2 separate regions of the Homo sapiens genome follow, and region 1 is linked to region 2. The links are contacts of gene promoters, found by promoter capture Hi-C in blood cells and fetal thymus (Javierre and others, 2016). All regions are on one chromosome and are shown on one strand. Each heading gives the region's core, a stretch centred on a gene start or on the middle of the fragment in contact. The rest is flanking DNA. Distances are from core to core; before and after follow the strand shown. Region 1 overlaps TGFBR2 (transforming growth factor beta receptor 2). Region 2 holds the start of OXSM (3-oxoacyl-ACP synthase, mitochondrial).

Region 1 (5,168 bases), core at 1,801-4,300, 4.9 Mb before region 2:
GCGCCCAATAAATGCCAGGACCTTTTTTCTAAGGGTAAAGTGATCTGTTCTCTGAAACCACGCTTGCTATTTAAGATTCTTCATCATGTGTTTTGATAGACACAGATATAATACTTGGAATATAACTTGTGTAGCAAAGATTACAGCAGGACTCTCACCTCCTCTTCCACCAAGTGGAGTTTAAGGCTCCTGATGGTTTGTTCTTTCTGTTTTGTTTTGATTCTTTCAGCCAGATCATCCTGATTTCAAAATGACCTTAACTCACCTCTAAACCCTGGGGTCTTCATCACATGAGCAGATTCCCAGCCAGTGTTTTGACAAGTGCTCCTTTGCAATCGATTGTTTGAACCTATATGTCTGATTTTACATCTACCTGTCAAGTTTTAGAAAATTGGTCATTTCAGGCCATTAAAACCCTGATTCAGCCTTTGCTCTTTTAGGCATCCCTTCCACTGTGCTTTTCACCCTTTATGTTCCTCCTTAGGATATAGATTCCTGCTACTTCTCTTGCTCTGACTTTAAAAGGAGGGCAACCAACATTAGGAGGGTGCCTACAAGGTACCAGGCTTTGTCCAGGAAATGATGACACATCTGTCCTCCCACAAAGAGAGTTTCACACCTGATATATGTTCTTTGGAACAAGATTTTTTTTCATTTTCTTTTCTGTGTTATTGCAGTTTTCTGACTACTAAAAGCTTAGGTTTTGTTAGGATCCCCACACCTGCCCTGATTCTTTAATTCTTTTTCTGGCTGGCTGTCTGAATTACACCTTGTACTCTGTCTAGGGGCCCTCATGTTCTCAGGAAACCTGAAAGCAAGGTACATTTCTTAAGTTATTTCAGGATGCTCTCCAACAGGGAGACCAGATCGCTTTGGAAAAGCATATTCATTATTCACAATACCTGTTAGGTCACCAGAATACATCCTCTCTCTCTCCCTGGCTTTCCAGGTGAACCACAGGCTTCTGCAATTCCTTCCCACCTGAGTTTCTCACCTCCTAAAATCATGCACACAGCCTCCCTGGTCCCTGCCTTGTCTCTGCCAAGGCAGTAGCACCCAAACCTTGCCATCCAACCTTTTGGACACATTAAGGTTTAAAATGTGCTTTCCTTTAACGTATAATTTAATCAGTTTTAAAAGCTAAGATGCCTATTCCCAATGAGGCCGTTGACCTTGTTCCAAAGCAATTGCTTGTAAATTGTTGTAGAAAACAAAATAATATCCCCTCTTAAAGTGTCTTGCTATTCCTCCAAGGATGGGGTAAAACAGGTGTTGGTTTTTCTCCTCCTCTAACCTTCGAAGGCATAATTTTGGCTCCTTCCTGTGGTAGCTGCCATTCTTTAATTGTTACCGTCCCTTTCCAGGCTACAGGGGGAACGTGACGAAAAATATAAAAAGATTTGGCAGAACAAACTGTCTTGAGTCCAGTGGTTCCCAATGTGGGCTGCATATTAAAATATCTTGAAGAATTAAAAAATAATTCCTGATACCAGGCCCCAGACCAATTAAGTCAGAAACTGCAGGAGTAAGACCCAGTTAATGAGTAGTTTTTAAAGCTACTCAGGTGTTTCCAATGTGCAGCCAAGCCTAAGCATAACTACATCAGCCTGGTGGAAGAAACAGGTATTTCGAATAGGATGGGGCCTGGAAAATGAAAGACATGGGAATAATTTTAATGACTACATTTCAGAGAAATTGTTCTTGACATTGGAACCAACTATATCCTCTAATTAGGCAACAAAAGGCATATATATGTATATTTTTAAAAGTAGATAAGCAAATATAAATTATTTCTCTAAAAGTTAACATGTTTTTAAAAAAAAGCATAATTTGTAATGGCAAAATTGATATTTTCCACAACAGGTAACATGCAGGAGCGATTTAGAATACAAAAGGACTTTCCAAAGGCAAGTCATCCAGATGTCCAAATGGTGGTGAATACAGCCTCTGGAGTATACGTGGGTGGAAATAAAAGTCAATTTCACAGTGGTTAGCCACCTCCCTGAGCCTTTTTTTTCCCCTGGTGGGACACTGAGACACTCGCAAAGCAGCAAAAGGTCTCAGTGGACCCTTCTTGCCATTACTCATGGGTGTGGAGTTTATGGAACACATGGAGGCCGCAGTGGGAGAGACCTGAGGCTGCAGAGGAACCACCCGAACCTTGCTACAGCACCAGCAGTATGGGTCCGACTGCTTTCTTGGCCACTCATATCCAGTGGATGGAATTTGAGACAGCCTGTGTCCATACTAGATTCCACTCTGCTGATTCATACCAGAATGAGGTTCTAGAGTACAAATATTCACAACCAGAAAGCACATCTGGCCTCAGTGCAGCTTTGTTTACTTTGCTACTTAGGAAAAAAAAAAATCTTGAAAAGCGAGTTGCTTTTGCCTTAATTCAGTTCAAATACATTCTAAGCTTCCTTCAACTGAGTCACAGTGTCCTCTATCATGCAAAATCTTTATTATTTCCTTGGCCAGACATAGGGCCATATTGATGAATTCCAAGTGTGCTTTCTAACCAAGGCTGGTTCACAACAAAAAGCTGCTTCAGCTCTGAGTCATCACCTCAAATAACTGATTTCTCTTCTCAGGAATGAGACTAGCAACTTTAATCCATAATTTTCTTCCTCTTCTAACAACTTTTCTCAACCATATTTCCACACTTATTTTTTCTTCTGCATTTAGACCAGAAAGTAAATCTGGTTTGTTTCTTTTGAAACAAAAATGCACAGCTGGAAAGCCAGCTATTTTGAGGCGTGAGTGCACAGTTCCAAGGCAGCATACCTAAAATCCCCCAGAGCTACCAAAACACCATTTACTCTTTTCATTTCTTACATGCAAGAACTAATCATTTCCCCAAGAAGCCAGCTCCCTGGTGTTGGAGCTGAACAAACATAAAATGAGATTTGGGAGAAAGAGGGCAGCATTTCTAAGACTTCCCTTACTCGGAAAACAACGGAAGTCAACAAAATGCTCAATGCATGCGATCAGTACACAGAGTGGGTTTGCTGGATGGTGTAAAGCAACGACATTAAGGACACAATGGGTCCAGAGGGAACCAGCTGGCTGAGATGTTCTGCTAGCAAGTTAAACATAGACAGGAAACCGCGTGTCTGATACTGTAAAAAAATAATTTGTCTTCCTGCCAGAGATAGGCTAGCAAACCAAAAAGGCTGTTTTCACTTAAAAGAAATGCTACAACAATGAGAGAGGAAGGAATGAAACTTTGTGGCTACAAGAAGTCTTCTTCTCTGCCCCTCTCTCAACATCTCAGGTTAGAGGGCACACATCACCACACTAAATGCTAAAGCCTGCACATAGCTTGCGAGTCAGCAACGTGCACCACTGGGCATACATCTTATGGTCTGCTTCCCTATTTAACCACATAGATTGAACTTTGAGTCAGAAGTGGTTACTCAAGTCCTGGTTTCTAAGCTAGCAAGATATAATTGATTTATTTACTTACAGTCCTATCCCATTCCCAAAAACAACAACAACGACAACAACAAAAAACACAGTGAAAGAAGATACAGTCAAGACAGGAGCTATAATTATGACAAATGGAATATAAATGTGAGAAAACAGGGTAAAAACTGGTAAGCAAGAGTGATATTAGTATGCTAAATGTGTAGGTACATATTTGCTAGAAGCATGATTCAGATTTGACTCTAAGCTTTTCTGGTAGTTAGCATTTGAGAGAGAAACACAAAAACCATGAATATCTCTATCAGGGGTTGGCCTGAGCCCTGTTTTTGTAAATGAAGTTGTACTGGAACACAGCCACGTCCAATCACTTACACACTGTCTGTGGCTGCTACCACAGAAGAGTTGAGTAGCTGTGACAGAGACTCTGCCCTGCAAAGCTGAAAATATTTACTATCTTGCCTGTTATCAAAGAAGTTTGCAGACCCCTGCTCGGTATGCTTCAAAGTGTCCTTAAGATCAGAGGCAAACAGGTCGTCATGAGGAGAACACCTTTCTAAAACAGAGAGCCAAAATAAATGTCTCCTGGCTTCCTCATGAAGATAACAATACAATGCAGTGAACAGCATCCTCCACATTCTTTACAGTAAACATACCACTTTGATTCACAGGACTCCTTATAATGGGGAGCACCTCAATAGGACTCAGGTGGAGGAATTTGCAGGGAAGAGGAGAATACATGACGTTGGTACAAATCTCCTCACTCATCCAGCTAAAGGCAAAGATAAGAAATTTGAATCTAGTGGAACAGTAATAACTATTTACAGTCAAAATTCATTAAGTGCTCACTCTGTGCCAGGTGCCGTGCCAAGTTCTCTACATAAATAAATACATTTATCCTCAAAATAATCCTATTAAAAGTATTCATTATTTCTACTCCCATTTTTCAGAGAGGTAAACAAGTAGTTACCCCAAGAACCAAGAGCTTACACACGGCTGAGCTGGGATCTGAACACAGGCAATCAGCAGGGAAGCCATGCTCTCAGCCCTGCCCTCTGTTGTCTTCCCAACAGATGAGCATCTTACTGGCCATCGTTTATACACATCATTTCTCACGGACATGGAAACAGTGTCAGCCTGAGGTTGTGCCTCTTGCCAAGGACATGCTCAGTGATGGGTCTGGGCTGCCGTTTGGCAAACAGAACAGGTAGCCTCTTATGTAAGTTGTGCAGCCTCCCATGGGTTAAGACTGATAAAAAAGCAAACACACCACCACCACGGGAATGTGGAAGGGTAAGGGTATTCCTTCTATAAGAGACAAGATTATCTGGTTCTTCTATGATTCTCCTACGGACAAAAAGTGAGGAACAAACTATGAGATCTTGGAAAATCCCAGCTCCTCTCTGGAGACCCACTTTTTTGTCATTAAAATGAGAAGTCTGGAGGAGCCAATTCACGGGTTTCACTTCATCATAAAAATGTAATGAGTCTATGAAACAAGACAACACACCTGAAAGTAGTTAGCACAGGTGCACACATTCAGAGTAGGCTGCAATCCAAGGCAGCGATCATCACTATAGTTGTTCTATGAGTTCCCACAGCCTAGGCCATGGGCTTGCCACCACCTTGCCTACATTTCAATTGGAAAAGGGGTGGGACCCTGGTCCTGCAAACAAACTACTGAAAGTCTAGGACTTGGGTCCAATGCTATCCCTTTCCTATATGGCCCCAGTGCCTCTCAT
Region 2 (5,000 bases), core at 126-2,625:
AACACCAGTAGCCACTTGATCAGCTTCTGACTGAGGATGCCAGCCAGAATCCTTCATGGCTAATTCTGCAGCCCCAATGGCCATGATGGTGGGAGAAGACATGGACTTGATATCTGATTTGGACACAAAGTTTTGTTCATTGAACTGACCTTCATCACTACCTCTTGGCACATAAGCAGCAACACTGCAAGGGATACTCTTATACTCTTCACCAACCAGTGAAACAATTCCACTCTCTCCTCCGATAAGACGATCCCAAACCAGGTGAGTTCCAACACCAAGAGGAGTCACTAAGCCAATGCCTGTAATGACAACTCGCCTATGCAATCTGGATATTGGCACAGTTCCGAAAAACTTCCTTTTACTTCTTAACTGTTGGCATAATCTTGAACATAGAAGACGAGTGCTTGTAATTTTCAGGAAATTTTGCAGGCAGTTGGACATGATTAAGATTCAGATGATCAGAAACACATTCCTGTAAAAGACCACAACACACCTAGGAGGTATTCTTTTAAATAGCTTAAGGGCCTAAGGAAAAACATCCAAGGTGTTCCTTTGGGTGCTTGATATGAGCTGCTAATGAACACAGGGAAAATGTTACATACTTTCAATTTATACCTTAACATCAAACTATCTGTTTAAACTTACCTTCTTTTTTAGACCTTAAGTGCCGTCAGACATTTGAAGACAAATAAATGAATTGATGATTCATTCGAGTCACCAAAACAGTAATTCAATGAAAAATATAAAGGCACCTCCAGCCTGATTTGAGCTGCAGGAAGCATCCTTTGTCAGGATTACTGATAACTTCTTCTAAATAGCATTTCTGGTGTCAGTGGCACAGAAAACACATTTCAGGGCATATTCTTTTAAGTAAGTAAGTGGGCTTTATCAATCTTCAGTACTTAAGGATAACCAGCCTTTTCAAAACGCTACCCAGGGCCAAGAGCCCTAGACTGAGCGTCTGGATACATGGGTTGGCAATACACTCTGTGACCAAGCTTGCGATGGGGGAAGGGGACAAGTCTTTCCACTCCTCTAAACTTCTCCAATTGAATCATTGGTGGAAGGAGGGGTTACGACTAGTGGATCACTTCAAGGGTACTACGAAGGCCAGGGGCGGGAGTAAAAGAGTGTAGCCATTCCCTGTATCGCCTCTCAGGCACCACCACACATGTACACAGCCCGAAGAAGCATGGCGAGAGAAAAAGAAATCAGGCCCCAGGTCCTCGGACTCCCCTCTCGAAATTCAACCCCGACTTGATTTGAATGTAAAGGAGGAAAGGAGGGGCGAAGGAGGAGGGTAGCCAGCGATACCTGTAACGGGGCTACCCCGGACACTTCTCCACAGTCGGGGGCGATGACGCTCTCGAGCGCACGCGCACACGCACGTACGCTCATGCGCGCTCGCACGTACGCTCATGCGCTTTCCCACGCACGCGTCCCGTTCGACTCTCTTTCCGCCGGTTGACTTTAAGCCGCGTCACCTTGGCTGAGGTCAGACCGTGGGAGGCGGCTGGGTAGCTGTTTGCGTGAGCAGAGACGCCCCTCTCGGAACCTCAGTGACTCGCCGATAATCGAGGACCTGCCAATAACGCGATGAGGTAGCATTTTCACCCATCAAAAAGGCATTTTTCTTTGGCAGTGATAATGCCCAAATATTCCCTTTTGTCGGAGAAGGGACACCATCGTATTCTACTGGAATTGTAAGAAAGAATTAAGGAAATTCTCTGCAGTTTCAAAGTTATTGCTATAGCTCGCAACGTTATTAGTAATTGTGAGTAAAGTGGAATTAACCAAAATGGCCAACATCAGGAAATTTGTTGTGTATCTTGTGGTACATCCAAATGCCATGCAGCCGTTTAAAATAATTCTGCAGGTGAATATTTATTAATGAGATGTTGCGACTATTTGTTAGGAGACATAGTTACAAAACAGTATATATCCGTTTTTTCAAAAATAATTCTTTAAAGGTCTGCAAGATGTATACTGATTGTGATCTTTCCCTCCTTATTTTTGCTTAGCTTTATTTAATAAAGCTTTTCTACAATAAACAAATGTTTTTGTAATAAAGTTTTTACTTTTTAAAAGTTGTCACCAGGCTGTTCTGCCTATGGAGTAGTCATTCTTTGTTCCTTTACTTTCCTAATAAACTTCCTTTCACTTAAAAAAAAATTATCACCAGATTTGAGACAGTGCTCAAAAATTGTCTCCATTGTCACAATGGAGACATTTGTTTCTAAGTGTGAAAAATTCATTAACTGTTTGCTTAGAGCTGACTGCAAACCGATAAAGGGAAAATATAACATGAAAATGTAAAAAAGCAAGAAGTCGACAAGATGGTATTCATCGAACATCTGTTTTTCACATGCTATCCCAGGCGTGAGTTTTGTCCTTGCTCTTCTTTAGAAAAATGGTTGAGCATAGAATCTTCATCTGGACCTTCTAGTCATATTTATGGTTTTTTCTGGGCAATGCCTCTTGAAGCCATTGTTTCCAAGTAGAGTGCTCTGCATTCTTTCCTACCCCTACAGAAGAATGTGAGTCAAGCTTAGCTTTCCAGGTTGGTCCTGGATTTAAATGAGTTTGGAAATCTATTTTGTTTAAAATAATTCAGCAAAGCTCAGTTTGACCTTCGTCCCAGGCCTAACCAGTCACCTCTAGTTGATCCTCATTCAGTGACAAAGTAGAGTTTCTTGAAGAATTAAAACAAACACATGTGGTTATAAAGTAACACTTGATGAGTAAGTACCTAAACTTGATCTCTTTTCATTGCTGTCTTTAAAATAATAGTGTGAAAATACCTACAATATTTTCTCTGAAGCTGAACTCATAAGAAACATACAGTTTTAATGTGCTATTTCTTTTGTAATATCACAAAATCGTCTTGGCTAAGAGGTGACAAAATCTTTCAGAAAAATAAAAAGACCATCATTTTTGTATCTACCTCTTATCACCTTTTCTTTGATCTGGAAAAGGGTGGGAAATTTTATGATATTTAATGGCTTTACATATTTGGTACCATATTTCCTGCTACAATTCCATCGTGTCTTCTTGCACCAAAATCTTCAAATGGGCTCTGCTTATCCTACCCTCCTATTAAGACTTCCTAGGTTTGCCTTAAATTCTTTGTAATCTGATTCAAAACTATCTTTCCAATTATGGCTCCCATTCTCTATTAAATGAGCTTGCCACCCAGCAAACTGATTTTCTCACTATACATGTCTTGATTGACCCTAACTTTTCTCATCTCTGTGCTTTTGCTATTTTCAACAACCACTCATTTTCTTCCTATCAATGCTTGAAGTTTGAATGCAAAAATGAGTAGAGGTATGGCTCTTGCTTTCAAGAAGTTTATGGTCTAGTAAAGGGAGACACCCATAGAAACAAGTAAGTGCAAACTGTTGAAACAGGTGCTATAGTGGAATTATTATAACACAAAAGGGACAATGAGGTCTGTGCTACCTCGTAAAGTCAGAAAAGGCTTCAGAGAAATGATCCTTGAACTGCATCTTGGAAATGAATGTTTGTCTAGTAAATTGGGTGGGAAAGGGCATCCTGGCAGGAGGAGAACAAAGGCCTGGAGAAATGAAGTGTCATGGTATCTTCCACAAACAGCTAAATATGTGGCCCATGTCAAATTTGAAGTGTGGGACAAAGCAACAGTAAACGCATGAGAGTAAGGCAGGGCCCAGATCACAAAAGCCTGGGGTATCATACTGAGGACTTTGGATTTAATCCCGTAGTTCAGAGACCATATGCTAGCCTTCATGGTATAATTTGGAGTGCAACATTCTTTTATTGATTCTAAACTCCTCTAGAAAGGACATGGTAAACTCTCTCATTCCCTTCACTGGAGTCTCTCTTACTCCTCTTTGTCTTGAACAAAGCCACTTAAAATATTTAACTTACCAGCCTGGTTCCTGACACCATTTGACTTTAGAATGTGGATAGAGGGAGCCATAGAAAACTTTTTACCAGGAGAACAACATGATCAGATGGGTGCTTTAGAAAGATCACTATTGCACAAATGAGCAGGGTGGGTTGGAAGGATGTGGAAATGGACACAGGGAAGAAAGTTAAGAATGGATGAAACACGAGGCTCTGAAGGCAATGGCAAGGAGAGATCCAGGAGATGTTGAGAAGGAAACGTTACTAGGATATTGTACATGATTTAAGGAGGGTGGGGAGTCTCTCACAGGTAGCAAGTCCTCTCCTTTCTCACCTTCTCAACCTCTCAATTTAAGGCTTCTGTTCAAGTTGTCCCCCCTCACTGAAACTGCAGCCCACAGTGAAATTTTCCTCCCTCTAAACTAGTAGTTCTCAAAGTTTACTGTTAATCAAAATCACCTGAAGGGCTTGTTACCACACAGATTGCTGGGTCCCACCTTTAAATGTGGAGCTTCAGAATTTGTTTTTCTGACAAGTTTCCTGCTGATGCTGCTGTTGCTTGTCCAACCACTGCTCTAAACTTATGACTTCTATGAAAGTAGGGACCATACTTGTCTCCTTCACAGTGCTGAGCAACTAGTAGTCACTTCATAAATACATGATGAATGAATGAATTATGGAATGAATAAATCAACATTTATCCTTACATTTGATAGTACACATGCACTTTTTGTGCATTTCTCACCAAATGACTTTTGCGAAAACCAATGCCATAGCATTAATATTGTGATAACAATGTACAGTCCATAAAATCATGGAAATCACCATTTTAAAAAAATCATCTGAAATTTAAGTCCTTCCAAATAACTCTTTAGCAACACTTCTGTTAAAGTTCTTGAGTAACTGTAATCTCTTTTGAATATTGCCATTTATAAAGCTATTAAGGGAATCCATTATATAAAGGGACTTGGTCTCTCATTTTCCTGGCTGCTTCCCCCACTTCAGTCAAGTTGGAGATATTCTAATTCTTCCATTTCCTTTAGAAAAGCTGAATAAGCTACCCTAACTTTTATACCCATCGTTGTTTCAAACAACCAAAGAATGGGTAC

The links. Contacts are between HindIII fragments. The CHiCAGO score rates a contact against its expected background, and 5 or more counts as called.
Region 1: a fragment that was not itself captured here is called in contact with the fragment with the promoter of OXSM in region 2 in 1 of 17 cell types (naive CD8 T cells); the score reaches 11.6 in naive CD8 T cells.

Annotation. Positions count from the first base shown.
Region 1 is chr3:30,656,737-30,661,904 of GRCh38, reverse strand. All of the region lies in intron 3 of TGFBR2 (transforming growth factor beta receptor 2), which reads right to left. Among named protein-coding and RNA genes, the nearest start is that of TGFBR2, 53 kb to the right of the region's middle. The HindIII fragment of the contact is 1,257 bases long and covers 2,422-3,678 here.
Region 2 is chr3:25,786,465-25,791,464 of GRCh38, reverse strand. OXSM (3-oxoacyl-ACP synthase, mitochondrial) reads right to left here and starts at 1,375. Exons shown (of 3, transcript NM_017897.3): 1 at 1,318-1,375; 2 at 1-475. The coding sequence starts at 444. It also overlaps a transcript of NGLY1 not described here. RefSeq lists enhancers at 1,078-1,147, 1,158-1,227, 1,367-1,896 and a silencer at 1,330-1,549. The HindIII fragment of the contact is 1,038 bases long and covers 1,004-2,041 here.